Regions from separate parts of the Homo sapiens genome. Here regions 1 and 2 are each linked to region 3. The links are contacts of gene promoters, found by promoter capture Hi-C in blood cells and fetal thymus (Javierre and others, 2016). All regions are on one chromosome and are shown on one strand. The core of a region is centred on a gene start or on the middle of the fragment in contact, and the rest is flanking DNA. Distances in the headings are between cores, read along the strand shown.

Region 1 (3,060 bases), core at 456-2,955, 360 kb before region 3:
AAAATTAAAGATTTTTGAAAATGGACAGATCATGTTTCTATATCAGAAGATTCAATATTATTATGGTGCCAGTTCTCCCCACGTGTATCTGTAGATTCAATGCAATTTCAAGCAAAATTACAGCAGACTTTACGGTTTTTGGTGGTTTTTTGCTAGAAGTTCACAAAGTGATTCTAAAATGTAAGTGGAAATATTACATAATCTAGAATAGTCAAAACAGGTTTTAAAAAGACACAATTAAGTGACTTATACTACATAATAACAAGACTTAATATACAAGCATAATAATCAAGACAGAGTTGACAAAATATCGACATAAGAATGGAGAATCCAGAAATAGACCTGCATAGATTTGATCAAATGATTTTCGATGAAGGCATCAAAGTAATTCAATAAGGAAAGGAAAGACTTTTCAACCAATGGTGCTGGAGCAGATTACGTTGTATATGTTTGAAGTTTTCTATAACAAATGGTCAAAAAAAAAAATCTAGCCCAGACTTCTTCAAAAATTAAGTATTTCTGCAGAACAGAAAGTTTCTGGTTGAAACTCATGACCCTGTAGATGAAGACTCACAGCTTGAGAAACACTAATCTAAGGTGTACAACTAGGAGGCAAGGCATATAATTAGGTAATGACATGTTCAACTTGGTAATGCTAAGTTAGTTTCCAGAGTGGCTGCATGACTTTATATACCTTCCAGAAACTGATTAGGTGGATAGGACTGACCTAGCTGACTTCAAGACTTATTTTAAAGCTTTAGTAATTTAAGACAGGGTAGTATTGGCACAGGGGTTGACCAGTGGAACAGCATAGAAAACTGAGAAATAGATGACATTAAAATTCAGTGGGGGAAGAATGAATTTATTCAATAAGTGGTACTAGAACAATTTATTATCCAAATGTAAAAAACGACAATAAAAAAATGAGATCCCCTCCTTCACACTACATAGACATCCTTTAAATTTTAAGGTTGAAATGTGACAGCAAAAACTCCAAAACTTCCAAACTTTTAGAAGAAAATTTAAAAATAGAAAGATTAGTAAATTTGATCACATTAAAATTAAAATACCAACAAAGGCTGTTACAATCAAAGTGAAAAGATAAGGCATAGGCTGCCAGAAAATTGTCTATCACACAAAATCAACAAAAACTTAGTATCTAGAGTTTTGAAAGAGCTCCTTCAGACCAATAGGAAGCAATTATCCAATCCCCATAGAAAAATAGGCAAAGGACAGGAAGAACAGATTCACAGGAGCAGAAATCCAAATGGCCAAAAACTATTTGGAAAGATTCTCAACCTTTTGTCATATGGGCAATTCAGAATAAAACAATAAACTACCATTTCACACACATCAGAATGCAAAAATTGAAGAGGATGTGAAGGAACACAGTGCCACGTGCTTCTGGAAGGTGTATAAAGTCATGCAACCATTCTGGAAACCAACTTCCCATGACCAAGTTGAACATGTCATTACCTAATTATTAAATGTACCTCGCGTCCTAGTTGTATACCTTAGATGAGTGTTTTTCAAGCTGTGAGTTTTCATTTACAGGGTCATGAGTTTCAACCAGAAATTTTCTTTTTTAATGAGATAGAATTCAATAATATTTTAAGACGACATCTCAGACAAGAAGAGAGACTGTTATTCCATGCACCTTTTGTTTTGGATCTATCACATTATGTAAGTATGTGTGTACAGGATCCCATGTGAAAAATATTTATTTCTTGCTATCTTGCCTCTGAGTAGAGAAAGATAACAGACATAAAGAACACAGACCAGAAAGGAAAGATTGGGATTTTGCTTTGAAAGCTATTGCTTAAAGTTATTTCCACAAATGTACAAGAATATGTAAGAATGTATATTTATCATTGTAATAGTGAAAAATTGGAAATGTCAATATCCTCTGTAAAAGGAATGCAGACAACAGAATACTATATAACACTGAAAATGAATGAACTAGAGCTATGTGTATTGATATTGACCAGTTGATAAATCTGAACCACATGAAGTTGAGTAAAAAAAGCAATTTGCAGAAGGATACATACAAAATGACACCATTTATATAGTAGACTGAAAGCATGCAGAACAATCCATTGTTGTTTACGTGTGTAACAGTCATAGGAATGACAACCACTGCCTTCAGAATTATGGCGACCTCTGCGATGGAAGAGAATGGGATCAGAGAAGGATACACAATAGGCTTTAACTGATTTTGTGATTATTGATATTAGAAATGTTTAAAATTAAGATATTAACATTTCATGAAGCTGAGTGGTGAGCACACCAGTGTTATATTCTCTCTATATAACTTTGTGTATATTTGAAATGTTTTCTCATAAAAAGTATTTAAGCAAGTTTAGGAAAGAATATTGATAAATGAAATCTAGAGACCATCAAAAGCCAATTTCACCATCACAAAGTATAATTGTGTTTCAAATATAATTGAAATTGTGTGACTGTTGCATATTCTCTTTTTTGTTGTTGTTAATGAAAGCATCTTAAACAGTTGCCTTTCAAAGCTGTTATCTTTGATAATAACATACATTAACCTAACATTGTGGACTTCTGTTAGGTTCGGATCTGAAGCTCCTGCCTTGTACCAGCAAGGCTATCATGCCATACTGCCTCCATTTAATGTTAGCCTGTTTTAAGGTAAGCTTAAAGTTGATTAGCTTGAAAAAAAATGTAATTTCAAATATTATTCTCATGACTCGAGAACTTGAGAACCTTGCTAAGGATTGTTATTTTAGTACTTTTGAGGGCAGGCCCAAACAGTTAGAAAAGCACATGGGCTACTAATTAACAAATCTATATTAAATAATGACTGCGCTAGGCAAAGAGAAGTAGGAAGTTCTCCCCGTCCTCAAAAAGTGTAATAGTGGGACAGATATGCAAATAACCTTGACTGTTGTAGTGTTTGGTAAATATTTTATCAATATAAATATATTAGCTACAAAGAAAGGGAATACAAATTGCGGTTAGGTTCATGGAGGGATGATGAGTTTGTCATTGTAAAGATGTGCTAGATTAAGCATGTTAGGTGTTGAGATCAACACC
Region 2 (3,112 bases), core at 222-2,721, 320 kb before region 3:
ACTCAGCAGGAGCTTGCATTCTGGGAAGGGGAGATAATCAATCAATCTATCATTCAGTCAGTCAGTCAATCAATCAGTAACTAGCAAGAAAAATTTCAGATAGTGGTGAGTGAGTACAGATATGTAATGACTAGACTGGACAGCTACTTTATGTGTTTAAGTAGACATTTTAGGCTGAGATTGTGTGAGAGGAGAATATCTTGGGCCCCCAAAATCACTAAGCTAACAGGAAAATTCAAGCTGGGAACTGCTCAAGGCAAGTCTGCCCCCCATTTCTATTCAAAGTCACTCTGCTCACTGAGACAGATGCATATGCTGATCTGGAAAGGCTTCTCAGAAACTCAAAGAATGCAACCTACCGGTGATCTGGAAGTCCCTTCCCTGCTTCAAGTTGTCCCCGCCTTTCTGGATGGAACCAACGTACTTCTTACTTATATTGACTGATGTTTCATGTCTTGCTAAAATGTGTGAAACCAAACTGTGCCCCGATCACCTTGGGTACATGTTGTCAGGACTTCCTGAGGCTGCGTCATGGGTGTGTGTGTGTCCTCAGCCTTGGCAAGAGAAACTTTCTAAATTAACTGAGACCGGTCTCAAATTTTCAGGTTTCACAACTGGAATAAGAATGATGATTATAATGATATTGGAGGAAGATGCATTCCAAGCATACTGAATTGATGGTACAAAGATGCACAACCAAACCTAGACCCTCAGTCAGGCCCCTATATCTGGAGCGAGCTCTCAAAAGGGGAGGGCAGTGGTGAAAGAGGGAGAAATCAGGCTGTGTCAGACTTAGTCACTCCACAAGTTTTGATGCTGGCATTTTTTATGTTTGTGCATACACAGGCAAAGATCTGTACATTACAAATGCTCTCTGGCCAACAGCAATGTAAGATACATCCCAATTTCATAGTTGCCAAAACATTTAAAAAAAGTATGCCTTTGAATTAATAAAATATACTCCTTTAGATGTATTGCAGGAAGTTCTTTGTTGCAGAATGTTTGAAGTCATTTTAATGGAACTCTATTTTAAGCTGTCTTTGTTCAACCTTTTGTGAAGTGAACTATCACTTTCTTGTTTTCCTTTGTTATAAATCCAGGTACTTAGAATGAAGCTCAAATATAATGAGAATGCTAGCCCAGCATGGTGAATAGATTATTTTAAGAGTAATTGGAGCACCTAAAAAACCAAGTCTAAATTGCTGAAACTGAAATTGAAATCAAATTTAAGATAAGATGCTCAGAAAAGCTTACCAACCTCACTTTAGGGTACAAAGATAAAGCTTTATCAGAGACTTTATTAAGTCTTAGTTGCTATGTAAGTTCAATTACTCAAGATAAGATGTCTAAATGCTTAGTATTAAGAGAAGTAACAGACTTACTGCTTTAAAAATAGGTGTAGATTAGGATGACTGACCTGGAACAAGAAGCTAGACTTGTCAGCAAGAAATTTGGGGATCAGATTGTTTTGTCCATTCTTTTCCTATTCCCTTCCAACTTCAGAAGCCAGAGAGATATGCCACAAGTGAGGAAAAGCTAACAAGTTTCTAGATTACTCAAAATGAATTGTGGAGAGTTCGCAAACTTGAAAATACAGGTAATCAGCCCAATATCACCTTTCCCCAGCTATCCTGGTATTTAATTCTTTGTGAACAATGCTAAGCTTTGTATGATTTTGGTTTGCTAGTACACCATAACCCTGAAATCTATTTCTAGTTGAAAGCACTATATGTTTAAGTGTGAAATGAACTTAGAGGGTAGAAACAGCCTTGTATTCTAGTTTGGTATAATACATAGAATAATGTGGCCCAAAAGGTGGGTGGAACATTTTGGGTGTACAGCTTATTTCGCCACCCAGGTAATAAGCATAGTGCCTGATAGGTAGCTTTTCAATCCTCACCATCTCCCACCTTTCACCCTCACGTAGGCCCCGGTGTCTGTTGTTCTCTTATTTGTGTCCATATGTACTGAATGTTTAGCTCCCACTTATAAGTGAGAACATGTGGTATTTGTTTTTTTGTTCCGGTGTTAGTTTGCTTAGGATAATTGCCCCCAGCTCCATCCATGTTGCTGCAAAAAACATGACCTCATTCTTTTTTTATGGCTGTGTATTATTCCATGGTGTATAAGTACTACATTGCCTTAATCCAGTCCGCCATTGATGGGCATCTAGGTTGATTCCATGTCTTTGCCATTGTGAATAGTGCTGCAATGAACATATGCATGCCTGTGTGTTTATGGTAGAACGATTTACATTCCTTTGGGTATACAGCCAGTAATGGGATTGCTTGCTGGGTCAAATGGTAATTCTGTTTCACATTCTTTGAGAAATTGCCAAATTGCTTTCCACAGTGGCTGAACTAATTTGCATTCCCACCTTGAGTTCATTGGTTTAACACAGTGTTTCCTACAAGGCTGAAGCTCCAGGGGCAGTGGAGAGAGGCTGCACTGTCATCTCGGGGCTGGAGTGGCCACTCTGACCCTGACGTCCACATACTTGCCTCCTTTCAGTGAGACCCCTCTCCTCTCTGAGGCTCAGACCTGACTCTTTAGAATTTTTATTTCTTATTTATTTTTATTGCTATTTTATTTTAACCAGTCTATTCATTAGACTTTCACCTAATTCTATTTTCAACTACAGCTTTCTAGAACATTCTGTGCAAACTCAGACTGATTTTGTATGTCCAGCCTTCAGCTAGAAAAAAAAAATCTTTCTGCATTTTTCCCCTGCTCCACTCTGGATACTTCCACACTGTGCTGCAAGGATAGCTTTTGAGTGCCGGTAATTAAGTCCCCCTAACCTAAGTAGGGGTGGGGGTCTGAGCTGGGTGGAGCCAGCAGGTAGATGCTGTCATCTCACGGCTTTCGATGGATAATTCTGGATGGCATTCTGCATGCTTCTTAGGAGATCACAGGATCATCAAGCTCTCATTGCTCCCAACCACAACCTCCCATCAGGCATACTTATATTAGCTTTCCTCTTTCCCTCTTCACTCTCCACTCCCTTACTCCTGCTTCCTGAGATCACCTCCAGTATCAGAGTTTTATTGCTGCATTACAGATTACCACCTATTTATTACCTGTATCAGATGCATTACCTGTTCTGTAGGTC
Region 3 (3,214 bases), core at 266-2,765:
GTGAAACTACATAGAAAGATTATTAAATTAAAAATAAAATTTCTCCTACTGTTCACATGTTAATCTACTTTACATGGCATTTTGCAATTGCTTTTTTATTTTAAACCTAATAATGTGTCTTGGACTTTTTTTAAAAAAAAAAACTCAACCCTTGAGCCTCCACTGAATTCTTTTCAAAAGTTTGAGAAATACCTTTGACTTAATAGGCTATAACTTATGAATGGGCATTTAGATTGTTTCTAGGTTTATGCTATTACAAAAATTTTTTTTGAATATCTGTGTGTATGTATATATACATGTATATGTCTGTAGACCATATATAATAATATATACCATATGGTGCATGACGTAATGTATTATATATAATGGAAAATATTTGTCACATACACTGAGTGGATAGATAGATACAGATATATCTACAGAGAGAGAGAACGATAAGTTCCTAGTACCAAAATATTTGAATGAGATATCACCAAATTGTTCTTCTAAATATCATACCAATTGTGCTCTTATCAGTAAAGTATTACAATTCCTGTTTAATTTTACACGTGCCAACTTTGGACATTAGTTAAACTTAAAAATTATAATCTTCTGGGTGCAGTGGCTAACGCCTGTAATCCCAACATTTTGGGATGCCAAGACGGCGGGATCAATTGATGTCAGGAGTTCGCGACCAGCCTGGCCAACATGGTAGAACCTCGTCTCTACTAAAAACAAAAATTAGCCGGGCGTGGCGGTGGGCACCTGTAATCCCAGCTACTTAGGAGGCTGAAGCAGGAGAATCGCTTGAACCCGGGAGGCGGAAGTTGCAGTAAGCCGTGATTACGCCACTGCACTCCAGTCTGGGCGACAGAATGAGACTCCCTCTCAAAAGAAGAAGAAGAAGAAGAAGAAGAATCCATTCCATTGCTCCGGCCTCCAGCCTGGGCTGTCATCCTACACTAGTCCCACCCCTTACACAGCTTCCAAATCTGCCCCTATTTTTCACACCGCTACGCACATCCTATAACAAGCCAATATATGTTTGTCGAATGGATACATGCGTGAACGAATTGGGTAGGGAGTAAAGTGAACTAAATGATGCCACATGTGTTAATAATCACTGAAACATGTTTTCCATTGCTTCTGTTTTTCAAAGCGGTTTTCACAGCTTGAGTTCTCTCCATTCAGCGTCACGAAAGCCCATTCGAAATGGATATCAGCTGACGTTGGCCTGCACGCGTTTGCCTTCCTCCCCTCACTCCGCTTGTGCGCCTCTCTTTCGGCTGGCTTTCCTCTCTCCTTCCATCTCCCCTCTTTCGCTTCCCTTCCCTCTGCGCCCGCGCGCGCCTCCCAGCACGCTGGTCAGCTCCTCTTGCTCGCAAGCAGGTCTGGCCCCAGCGGCGCGAAGTCACGAGGCTGGGGGCGGCCGGCGGCGAAGGGGGCGGGGCGAGGCCGGGGCGCCGCAGCGCGCATAGGCGGAGCCTCGGGCCGCGGGCCGCCTTGGTATATCTGCGCGTGCGCGGCGTCGCTGCTGGGCCAGTCGGGACAGAGGAGACAAGATGGCGCTGCGGGCGATGCGGGGGATTGTCAACGGGGCCGCACCCGAGCTACCCGTGCCCACCGGTGGGCCGGCGGTGGGAGCTCGGGAGCAGGCGCTGGCAGTCAGTCGGAACTACCTCTCCCAGCCTCGCCTCAGTGAGTATCAGAGAGTAATACGTCTCCGGTCTTTGCTCCCTAGCCTAGCCCTTTGCTCCCAGTCACCTGCTTAGCCAGCGGGTAGGGGGTAGGATTTGTTTTTCCCTCCCGCGTCTCCCCTCCGACCCTGACCCACTTGTCTCTTTAGAAGGAGATTTGCCTGTACCTAATATTTCCAGGAGATGGGCTGAGGGCAAGAGCACCAGCGGGAACTTTTTCCTGGGGTTGGTGGGCTCCTGGCTGTTGCCCTACCCCCTCCCCTCCCCAGCTTCCCTAGGCTGGAGCCTTCTTAGGCACTTGCTTCCCGTCCCCGAGGGCCACTTCTTGCCACTCCGATCTTAATCTTCCCCTGACTTCATTTGGATATCTAGGGGTCGAGGGAACGCCCCTTCTCCCCTCCCCCTGGTGAGGACCTCAATGGGGTCTTCAACTCCTGCGGAGGGCAGACGGTAGAGCCTTCGCTGACGTGGTCAGGCCTTTCGTGGATGGAGGTCAGGCCAGTAGCCAGAGGGAGATGTGGCTTGGTGTTTGGTGGAGGGGCTGCTCCGCAGAAGGACACCTAGATATCAGAGAACGCTAGAGCTGAAAAGTACCTTGCAGGTCATCCAGTCCAACCCTATCATTTTACAGGTGAGAAGCCTAAGGTTCTGGAAGGGGTAGGATTTGCCATGCTTCAGACACTTAATTATTGGCAGAGCAGGGACTAAAAATCCAGGTTCTTAAATTCTCGCTGGGCCTTTTTCTACCGTTGCCTCTTCATTTACTGACCAGTTAACCAAACTTGGTTGAGTGCAGGGTTCTTTGGGGAAGCCAGGTGGCTTTGCCCATAGGTGGTGTGTGTGCATAGGCTTGTTTAAATGTTGTGATTTTTTAAATAAAAAGGCCTTAATGAACTAGGTTTAAGTGGATAGCTCAGCAATTCCAAAAGAAATGGTTCTTGATTACTAGAGAATGCAGTTGTGTAGCATCCAACTTCTTCACAGCTTTCTTCGGAACTGGCAATGAGCCCTCGAAATAGACTTTTTAAAAAACTGGGAAAAGCACATGATGTTTCCCCAGGTGGTGAGACTGCATTTTCACTGGTTAATTGCCAGAGTGTCTGTCTCTAGGTGGCCGACTGATTAAAAAGGATTTCAGATGAAGGGTGTTAGTCTGGGCGATCTGAAGCCTGACTAATCCACATCCTGATCTGTCACTGGGTCATGTGATAGCACTGCAGTGTGAAGAAAAAGGAAAACATTTGATTCGGTGGATTGCTGAGATGTGCCTTTTACAGTAACTGGGAATTGTTCGAATTAGAAAATGTATGTTGGGACTTATCTGAGCTGAAGTAGCTACTTCAGGAAATCGGCAGATGTTGCATTCTTATGCAAACCTTGGCAATAAATTTATACCTACGAATTACAAATTCTCTTTTATTAATTGCGTTTGTATGCATTGCCTTTCTTTGGGTAGAACAGATAGACATTAGTGGTGCCTCTCAAAAAAGGTTATAAAGGTGCAGTAGTCAGTTTCCATATAATTAATCATTCAGTGT

The links. Contacts are between HindIII fragments. The CHiCAGO score rates a contact against its expected background, and 5 or more counts as called.
Region 1: a fragment that was not itself captured here is called in contact with the fragment with the promoter of ATP6V1B2 in region 3 in 2 of 17 cell types (M1 macrophages and monocytes); the score reaches 6.8 in M1 macrophages.
Region 2: a contact is called between a fragment that was not itself captured here and the fragment with the promoter of ATP6V1B2 in region 3, in 1 of 17 cell types (monocytes). The highest score is 5.9, in monocytes.

What each region holds. Positions count from the first base shown.
Region 1 is chr8:19,840,273-19,843,332 of GRCh38, forward strand. INTS10 (integrator complex subunit 10) reads left to right here. Exons shown (of 17, transcript NM_018142.4): 14 at 2,576-2,655. Among named protein-coding and RNA genes, the nearest start is that of INTS10, 24 kb to the left of the region's middle. The HindIII fragment of the contact is 1,905 bases long and covers 754-2,658 here.
Region 2 is chr8:19,873,408-19,876,519 of GRCh38, forward strand. No RefSeq gene overlaps it. Among named protein-coding and RNA genes, the nearest start is that of INTS10, 58 kb to the left of the region's middle. The HindIII fragment of the contact is 380 bases long and covers 1,282-1,661 here.
Region 3 is chr8:20,195,866-20,199,079 of GRCh38, forward strand. ATP6V1B2 (ATPase H+ transporting V1 subunit B2) reads left to right here and starts at 1,516. Exons shown (of 14, transcript NM_001693.4): 1 at 1,516-1,677. The coding sequence starts at 1,542. RefSeq lists a silencer at 1,290-1,569. The HindIII fragment of the contact is 6,568 bases long and covers 1-3,214 here.